Linked DNA regions of Homo sapiens: region 1 is linked to region 2. The links are contacts of gene promoters, found by promoter capture Hi-C in human tissues and cell types (Jung and others, 2019). All regions are on one chromosome and are shown on one strand. Each heading gives the region's core, a stretch centred on a gene start or on the middle of the fragment in contact. The rest is flanking DNA. Distances are from core to core; before and after follow the strand shown. Region 1 overlaps COL25A1 (collagen type XXV alpha 1 chain). Region 2 holds the start of COL25A1 (collagen type XXV alpha 1 chain).

Region 1 (4,415 bases), core at 690-3,189, 56 kb after region 2:
CATATTTATTGATGAAAAGTTTGAGAGTCTAAAAAAGGAAATATTAATTCTATTGAATACTCATAATTCTGAATAAGCTAGGTGAAGAATAAAAGGTTTCAAATTACCCTGGCTAAGGACTAGAGAATAATAGTAGTTATAATCGTAGCAATACATTTATATATATGTAAATATACATATATATTTACATTATATAGCAATACATTATATAGGCATGCGTAGAAGGTAAAATATTCTCATATATTATCTTGACTGTGGGACAATACGGGTTTTTCTCAGGTCTTTTCAACTCTTTTAGCAATTGACTCTGTTGACTATACCTCCTTCCGTGAACTTACTTTCCCTTGACTTTCATGACAGTAAGCTCTCTTGATTCTCTTCTTTCTGTTATCTCTCTCCCTTCTTGACCCGTTTCTTGCCTTTGCTGGCTAAAAGCATCCTTTGATGTTTTACTTGGATCTTGTCTCTTATGTTTCTGTATTCTTCCTCTTGGTGTCATCTGTTCTGGTGAATCTCAAATCTTTACTTTAGGTTTTGATCTTTTGAGTTGAAGACACATGTTTTTAACTACCTGGTGGTTATCCCATGTAGAATGCCTTAGTTTTACTTCCCACCTAGCATGTTCAAGACTGACTTCATCTGCTAAATATGCTCCTCCTCTATCTATCTATTTACTGTTTTTTCAGTATTAACTTCTTCCAGGTCTTCCTTTCCTATGATTCTAACATTCATTGGTTTTAAAGCCCTTGCATTGTACGTAAGCAATATTACATGTTCCCTAATTCAGGCCCAAGTGACTGTAGGCTTGTCTAATAGTTTGAGCTGGTCTTAATTGCTGTTTTGCTACATAAAAGCATTAACTGGCTTCTTTTCTTTCACTTTTCCTTACCTGACATTCAAGCCTTCCACGATGGGCTCATTTCCACATTTTCAATCCTCCCTCCCTCCTTTCCTTTTTTTTTCAGTCTTGCTCTGTCGCCCAGGCTGGAGTGCAGTGGTTCGATCTCTGCTCACTGCAAACTCCCCCTCCTGGGTTCAAGCCATTCTCCTGCTTCACTCAGCTTCCTGAGTAGCTCAGATTACAGAACCACACCAGGCTAATTTGGTGGAGATGGGGTTTTACCATGTTGGCCAGGCTGGTCTTGAACTCCTGACCTCAGGTGATCCACCCGCCTCGGCCTCCCAAAGTGCTGGGATTACAGGCATGAACCACCACACCCAGCCTCAAGCTTATCTTTCTTTACTTCCTTTTTCTATGTTCCAGCTGATCTGGAACACTTTAAATTTCTTAAATGCACAAACATCAAGCCTTTTTGTTTTAGGTCTTTTATTATATTATTCCCCTTTTAAATCCCAGTTCAGATGTAAGTTTCCTATATAGAAATAATTTGTTCATCTTCTGAACCTACCTTGCATTCCAGGGCATATTTTGTGCATTTTCCACGTAAGCTTGAAGATAGGACTCATGTTTGGTTTCATCCTTGTGTCCCTTACAAACCCTAGAACAGAGGCCTCCTCCTTAATGATTTAACAAGTTTATAAAGTAGATAAATAAATTAATGAAGAAGTTTAACACAGAATAGGTAAGAAAAAGAGAATAGAATCATATACAGGAAAAAAATGATCATAGTAGAGTCAATTTTTTAGAATAATTAAATTGGAATACAATTTAATTCTAAAATATTTATAAAATTTTAAGATTTGTTGAATGCCTATTCAGATTTTTTTAAATTTATAGATAAAGATATAGATGTACTAATTATCATAAACTTGATAGGAAAGTTGATACAGTAAAATATCAAATCACTTTTGAGAAAACAAGAATTCCTTGAGAATTGGTGGAGTACTCACTCATCAATTAGAATACCATTTACTGTCTTTACCCTGTTTGACTATCCAAGGTCAGAATTTCATTGATATAGATGAAAATGATGTAGTCTCTAGAGCTTACTTTTACTTTATTTGTTTACTGCTAGAACTAGTAGTTTTCTAGCTCTACCAGCTTACTGTATAGATTTGTCATTTGCATTTTATATCTCTGCTTAATTTTATATTAAGATATTGGCACTTACATGTAATACCTTGAGGACAATTTGAATATTAATCATTATAATCGTCATTGTTTTAAACTCTTGTATCTGAGCAGCCTTAGGAATTTGAAGTATCTGCTATGATAGTATCTATTTTCATGCTTAAGTCTTTTTTCCTACTTTAGGTACCCTTATTGCTGTTAATGTTTTCATTTTGTGTATTGTTTATGTTTTTTAAATTTTTTTTTTTTTTTTTTTTGCTTTTTAACAAAAAAGCAACTAGAGGTTCCTCTACTGAAAAACTAGTTTTCAGGCCTGGCCTCTGCATATCTCTCCTACCCATGGGCAAGGGCCCCTGGTCTTCCATCAGCCGGCCTAACCCTGATCCTGATCCCTGGGACAAATCCCTATCATGTGGTGTGAACTTGCCTGTCTTTAATCATTGAGTTGTTTTTTTGCTGCTACCTTTGGGGTATAGTTGTATTAACTGAAGCTCTGTCCTATTCCTGTTCCATGATTCTTGACATAGGACTTCTGTCTTTTTCTTTCAGATTTAATCCTTACGTTGTGCTGTAGTTTTTGTAAACAATCATCTGTTTGTTTTTAGCTGATACCCTGTGTTGGTAGCTGCCGCTGTACTCATGAACCCAAGCTTAAGGTAGACTTTGGTTCATAGCAGGTATTCATATAATGGTTATAGGTGATTGGATGATTAGATTCAGCCCTTTAATTCTAAGGGCTTACTGATTCTTTCCCTGCTTGTCTGGTACTCTGAAATGTTCCTGCATTTTATTCTGTCATCACCATGCTCCACACATATGATAGGATACCTTTGTTATTTCAAGTTTGGCTTCCACCATTGCCGACTTCTCCGGAGTGGCCTTTTGATAGATGCTTTGACTTCCAAAATAAACTTCCTTTCTGCACCTTCATACCAGTTAATTACCTCCTGTATACCAGTCCCAACCCAGAGGACCAAGTTCCTGGAGACCTTGCAGATTCCTATATTTGGCTATAACAAACTGGACCATATTGGTCTATGATAAGGATGTTCATATTTTCTAGGTTTGCCTAGGAAAGTTCTGGGGTTTTTTGCTTATTATTCTGGTATAATTATCAATAGGGCCTCCTTTACTCTCAAGGTATCTAGGTCTAGATAATAAAGTATATAATATGGTCACTTAAACCCTTCCTAAGTTATGACAGAAGCTGAACTCTTAAATTTTGTCTTAACTGTGTCAATTATAGTGCCATATTGAGAAAGTTGGAGGTTTACTTTTAAAAATCAGATTTTTAAAGTTATCCAGTGTATTAAGTGACTTTTAGTTTATGGCTATTTGAATAGAGATTATAAAAATATAAATATAAAGGTATCAAGACACAAAATATTTTTCTAGAGATCCACATATTTATTGGGCACTATATTATCATAGTATTAAGAGTTTCTGGGAAGCAAATTTTAAAAGATTTGCTTCATGCCCTTCATCAAATATTCTGTGAGGCAACGCACTACCCAGACACTTAATTTTAAACCTCTGTGATTGTATATGTTTAGTTATGTAAGCTCTTTTGGGGACTGCAGTGCAAGTTCTGCTGTTATTGAATCACTCAAGTGAAGAATGATAACAATTCTAAAAATACTGCATCTTGGGTATTTTTTTAAAAAGTGATCGGTTGCCTTTCATGTGCAGCATAGCAGAAAATAACTAGGCCCTCATAATTATTCTCAGGGCTGCAGTTTGTGAATTAAAACTTAAATGCCTTGAATTGCAGATGCTTCAACTCCTTTTTATTCACTTTGCAAAGTTGCTTAAAATTGTTGCAAATTACTGTAATAGAAGGGGAAGAGTGGGATCTTGTGAGTACTTTTAAATGAAGCATAATCATAGGAAGGCCTACAAAGTGACACTTTTTTTGATATAGTCTGTGAATTTAAGGATATTATCATCCTGCTTTTTTTAGTATGTCAATGGATACTAAAATATTGGAAAGTGGAAAAAGATAATTCACAGTGTAGACACTGTTTTTCTATTGTGCATGACTTAGGGAATTCGGTTTACCTCGACTTAGGGAATTCAATGCCTGTTTTTCAGCTGTTTTTCATGATGAAAAAAACCATGCTTTTTTTTTTTTCTTTCTTTCTATTTCTCTTTACTTCTTCCGGGATAGATAAAGAGGACAGTGTTTGTGTATGACTGTGAGATCAACAAAAGTAGGGGTTTACTGTAGTCTAGAGCTGCTTTGTGTAGGTCTGAGAATCCTCTATGTAGAAAAGAACCTTTATCTACTAGACTGTTTTAATCTTTAATGGTTAACTTCACTGCCTTCAGTACTTTCTGAGACAAGTAATTCTACATGCTCAACAGATGCAAGAGAAACTCACTC
Region 2 (4,885 bases), core at 362-2,861:
ACAGTAAATCCTCACATCGCAGGGTTATGAGGTTCAAATACAAAAAGTATTTGAAAATATTTTGGAAAGTATTATACCAGTGGTTCTCAAACTTTAGTAGTATATATCAAAATCATTTGGAGGGCTTGTTAAAACACAGATTGCTGTTTTTTTTAAAATTATTATTTCAGTAGTGGTAGTAGCAGTTTCTGATTCAGATCTGTGGTAGGAACCTAGAATTTTAATGTCCAAGTTCTCAGGTGATGCTGATGTTATTGGTCTAGGACCATCCTTTGAGAACCACTGTGTAATACAAATGAATTATGGTTTTGACTTTATAGCCAAATTCATTGAGTTTTCCTCCAATGTTAGTCTCTTTCTTCCTCTAATGCTGTTATTTCCTTACCTTGCTTCACACCTAGCAATATCCGTTTACACATGTGAAAGACCAACTTAGTGAAGTATTTTGTTGACTGTTTACAATAGTAAGCAACGACTTCAGGTTAGCTTAATTAAGGAGAATAGGAAAAATATATGGTTTTTTTTTTTATAGGGAGATAAGAAGGAACTCTTTGGAATAAGAGGTGGGATTTCTGTTTTCCCCAAAGTCAATTAGATGTCAAATGCTACTTGTTACCAACTTTCCAAAATCCCATTAGAGACCTTGTAATTTGATCCAGAGAGAACAGCATTAAGAGTCAGGTAAAAGGAAAAACTGACTTCATTCTTCATTCCTTTCCTAAATCCTGAGAAATGTGTATACCTCAACACTCCCTTTTCCAATCCCGCAAAACAGGGAATCAGGAAAACACATTAGCACCCTAGTACAGACTAGGAATACAGAGCTGGGAGGAGACTCAGTGCCGTCAAGACAAGGAAACTGGGGGAGGGGAAGGAAAACTTCCCCTCGTTGGACAATCTGAGGGCTGCAGTGGGAAGAGAAGGGAAGTGGGGAAATGTACCTCAGACGTCGGCCAGACACTTTGCCTCTGGGCATGTGGGAAAGTGAGGGAGGAGGGAAAAGCGCTGCACCACAGCGAGATAGCAACAGCTCCTGCGGCTGCTTTTGAGTGAAGATCAGTAGAGATAGAGCGTGCCGCTTCACATCTTCCTCCCGGAGGCCATTTCTCCATTTTTATGTGGGATAAAAAGGGGGCGCTGGGCTGAGTCAGTATAAGCCAAAGTTGCCGCCTCTTGCGCAGCCGACCCCGCTTCGGCCCCGGCCCAGGCCAGAGAGGTGGCCCTCGGAGATGCTGAAGTTACTCCGCGCAGGGGGAGGGGTCGCCAGGCTCCTCTCCAATCACGGTGGCCGCTCCAGCTATTTGCATACATTATGCTAATAACAGACCTCCTGCCCCGCTCCCACCCAAGCTTCCCGCCTCCCTTGGGGGTTCCCCGGGCCGGCCCGCGGGCTGGGCCAAGGTGAATACATTATGATAATAAGGCGGGCTCCTGCTTTGCCTTCGGAAGGGGGGCGCGCAGCAGCGGGAGCGGCAGGCCGGACGCCGGGCGCCGGGAGGGGGTCGGGGGAGGGACGTCGTGCTCGGAGCGCGCGCGCACTCACACACTCACACACACACTCACGCGAGCATCGCGAAGGGTATTTAAGGATCGCGCACGCGGGGCTGCGGAGATCCTTCGGGCAGCCGCGACTTCGGCTTCGCGAGTAGCATTGGTTCCTTGGGTTTATTTCGTTTTCCTCTCTCTTCTCCACCTTAGTCGCCCCTTTCGCGCTGCGCTGTAGCGTGCTCTCACAGCCTTTTTGCCTTGAACTGAATGCAGGTGGGAAACAGGTCGGCGTGCCGAAAGACACCGAGTAGGTAGAAATAAGGCAAACTCACAGAGGCGCAACAGGTCCGGTCCTCCGTGGCCAGGGCGAGCCGCGGCCCCGCGTGGCGCCTCGGCCGTTGCCCTCGGACCCTGAGCGGCCACTGTTGGGGCCCTCGAAAGAGGTGTCGGTCCTCTGGGAGTCGGAAGAGCTGTCTGGGTGGGTTTCGTCTTGCTTTTTACCCCACCGCCACCCAGTCCCCGGACGGAGGGTGCTTTTCACTTCCAGCTGGGAGGAGAGAAGAAAGCGGGGATGGTGCACGCCTGCGGGTCTGGACGCTGAGCAAGGCAGGGGTCCGTATCCGCTCGTGGGCTTGACTCCACCAACTAGTTGTGCAGCCACAGGGACTGAACTTTGGAGGAATCGACCTTTTTCTTTCCTTTTAGGATTATTTGAGGTGTAGAGGGTGGGAAGCGAAGCCGAGACGGCCGACCCCGCCACGATGCTGCTGAAGAAGCACGCAGGGAAAGGAGGGGGCCGGGAGCCCAGATCCGAGGACCCGACCCCTGCCGAACAGCATTGTGCCCGGACCATGCCCCCGTGTGCCGTCCTGGCGGCCCTCCTGTCAGTGGTGGCCGTGGTGTCTTGCCTGTACCTGGGTGTGAAAACCAACGACCTCCAGGCGAGGATCGCCGCTCTCGAATCCGCCAAAGGGGCCCCTTCCATTCATCTGCTGCCTGATACCCTGGATCACCTCAAGACTATGGTGCAAGAGAAAGTGGAGCGACTTCTGGCTCAGGTGTGAGAGGCTGGGGTATTTTGCACGTGGGTAACATCTTGTACAAGCGTGACTCTGTGTGCATGACTAGCCGCTACCCTTACTGTACCCATACTTGGTGTGGCTGTGTGTGTGCGCGCGCGTGCATGTGTTGGCCAAGGATCTATGCTCACTGTAGCATATATTTATATGTGCACATCCCTTGATGTCCCCATCCCTATCTCTAATCTTCCCTCACTCTCTCTTAATGTTTGCGTGTTAAACACATAGGAAGGTCTAAAAGGGTTCGGAAAGGGCATTTTATCTCTTTTTAGTTGTCCTAAGTCAAACCCAATTGTGGAGAGAATATTTCTTGCAGAGATAGCATCTGTTAAATCTTTTACATGTTGTAAGATGGTTAGGGTCATAGATGTTATTAATATATAAAAAAGGTAATCACTCTTAAATGTAAAATAATGTCATATATAATTTAAAATCAATAATTTCACACGTTGAATCTTTTCATATTAAAAGTTTAAACTTTTTTTTTTTAAAGTAGCTTTATTTTTGGTAAAGGATGCAGTGCCGGGGTATTTATGAATGCAGAGCCCTTGGAATTGAGAGTTGAGAGGAATCTATGTTATGTGTAAGGGTACCTTTAGACTAGAGTAAGGGGGTTTTCTGGAACCTTACCCTAGCCGGGAGCCTATTTGGCAGTAGTTGCAGCCTAGCATGATAAATAAAGCAGTTGACCTTCATGTATAAAATATTGGCTGTTATTGGTAAGCCACAGCTTACCTAATACTGCAACATTTTAGTGCTAGGTTTTTACATTGACTGCATATGCTTGAGCTGAGGGAGAGAGTGGTGGTAGAGAAGAATGGAGAAAGATGTTATACAAGTCCAGCAATCTTGATACCCTATCAGTGGTCATTTTCTTTTTTTAGGACTTAGGCATGGTTACTTTCTTGACTAGAGTCCAAGTACATATGTAAATGTTAGTTATGCAGGTTATGAAATGCCGGTAAATCAGGCGTATGGCCAGAGTCCCTAAAGACTCCATCCCTCTACAGTGCTACTGATGATTATTAATAACTCTTCTTTTCCTACAGAAATCCTATGAACATATGGCTAAAATAAGAATCGCAAGAGAAGCACCTTCAGAATGTAACTGCCCAGCAGGTAAAATGGAACTTATTTAACAAGGTTTCCTCCAGAGCAGAGCATTTTAAAACAAAGGTCCTGTGTCTGTCAAGTCTACCTGTAATAATAGTAAAGAAAGAATGCAGACCCAACTTGCTTTAATAAAATCAACATGTCTCATTCAAAAGGATGGCAAATAAAGCCCCAAATATTATTTTAAGCAGCATACCAAGGCCTGTTATGGGAAAGCAAAGGATATAATCACCAAAGAAAATATAGGCAAGGTGATGTACAAGGACAAACTTCTTAGATTCACAGATTGAAAAATATTCTTCAATTAAATTGTCTTAATGTCTACAGTGAAAAGGACTGTAGAACTGTTAGATTCTGAATTCCTGGCTCGCTCTTATTGTGTTAGTGCAGAGTTTTTTTTTTTTTTTGTTTTGGTTTATTCCCTTTGGCATACGTTTATGTTAGTAAACCACCTTCACTTCCTTTCCTGCTGTTTCTGTTCTATTAAAAAGATTCCATCTCCTATCCTATAGCTAGAGATGATGACTGAAAGAAAATGATTTCTTTATCTTGAGCTTCCCATTACAAACTCTTGCATTCTCAGTGACTTTTGAAGAAGAGGCTCTTATATTTTTACCTTTTTTTCCTGTGTAGCTTCAGGGAACTATATTAAAGGCAGCATATTAGTAGAAGGACAGAGAAGAAGGACATCATGAATAAGACCCCTGGGTAATCATTAAATCTTCCTTCATGGACCTTTGAGGGCTTGGTAGATATCTTAGACCTAACAATTTAGAAGCCCTTGGAATATGGCCATTGGAAACATCTAGTGGATTCAACTCATGTAAGTCATGAAAAACTCCCATGAGTTGAGATGTTTATTTCAGATAAACATTGTTAATACATTTATGAACATGATAGTTTCTTTTATCATCACTCATGGAAAGTGAGTCTCTTAAAATTTCTTTAGTATTAAGCAACATGATACTTAGGTGCTTATATATGAAAAGGCAAGTTCTTGTATTTTTTCATATTCTGAAACGTTTCCCCCTCATGATAACTTGTTTTGGCAGAGCTACACAAGGCACCACATTTAGAAATTTTAAATGTCAACTCCAGGTTGTACCTTATACAAATTTTACTATTTATATTCTGTTAAATTTTTGAACATAATAGAGCTATATCTTTAAAATGAAGCCCTTTTGATCGAGAAGACATATATGTTA

The links. The method cuts DNA at HindIII sites, captures the fragments that hold promoters and counts their contacts. A contact is called where the count stands out against the background at its distance.
Region 1: a contact is called between a fragment that was not itself captured here and the fragment with the promoter of COL25A1 in region 2, in 1 of the 25 tissues and cell types used here (H1 embryonic stem cells).

The regions. Positions count from the first base shown.
Region 1 is chr4:109,243,891-109,248,305 of GRCh38, reverse strand. All of the region lies in intron 3 of COL25A1 (collagen type XXV alpha 1 chain), which reads left to right. Among named protein-coding and RNA genes, the nearest start is that of COL25A1, 57 kb to the left of the region's middle. The HindIII fragment of the contact is 4,025 bases long and covers 1-3,951 here.
Region 2 is chr4:109,299,384-109,304,268 of GRCh38, reverse strand. It overlaps COL25A1 (collagen type XXV alpha 1 chain), which reads left to right and starts at 1,611. Exons shown (of 38, transcript NM_198721.4): 1 at 1,611-2,100; 2 at 2,194-2,546; 3 at 3,617-3,686. The coding sequence starts at 2,250. It overlaps COL25A1-DT (COL25A1 divergent transcript), which reads right to left and starts at 1,234. Exons shown (of 3, transcript NR_160939.1): 1 at 942-1,234. RefSeq lists an enhancer at 757-1,539. The HindIII fragment of the contact is 11,543 bases long and covers 1-4,885 here.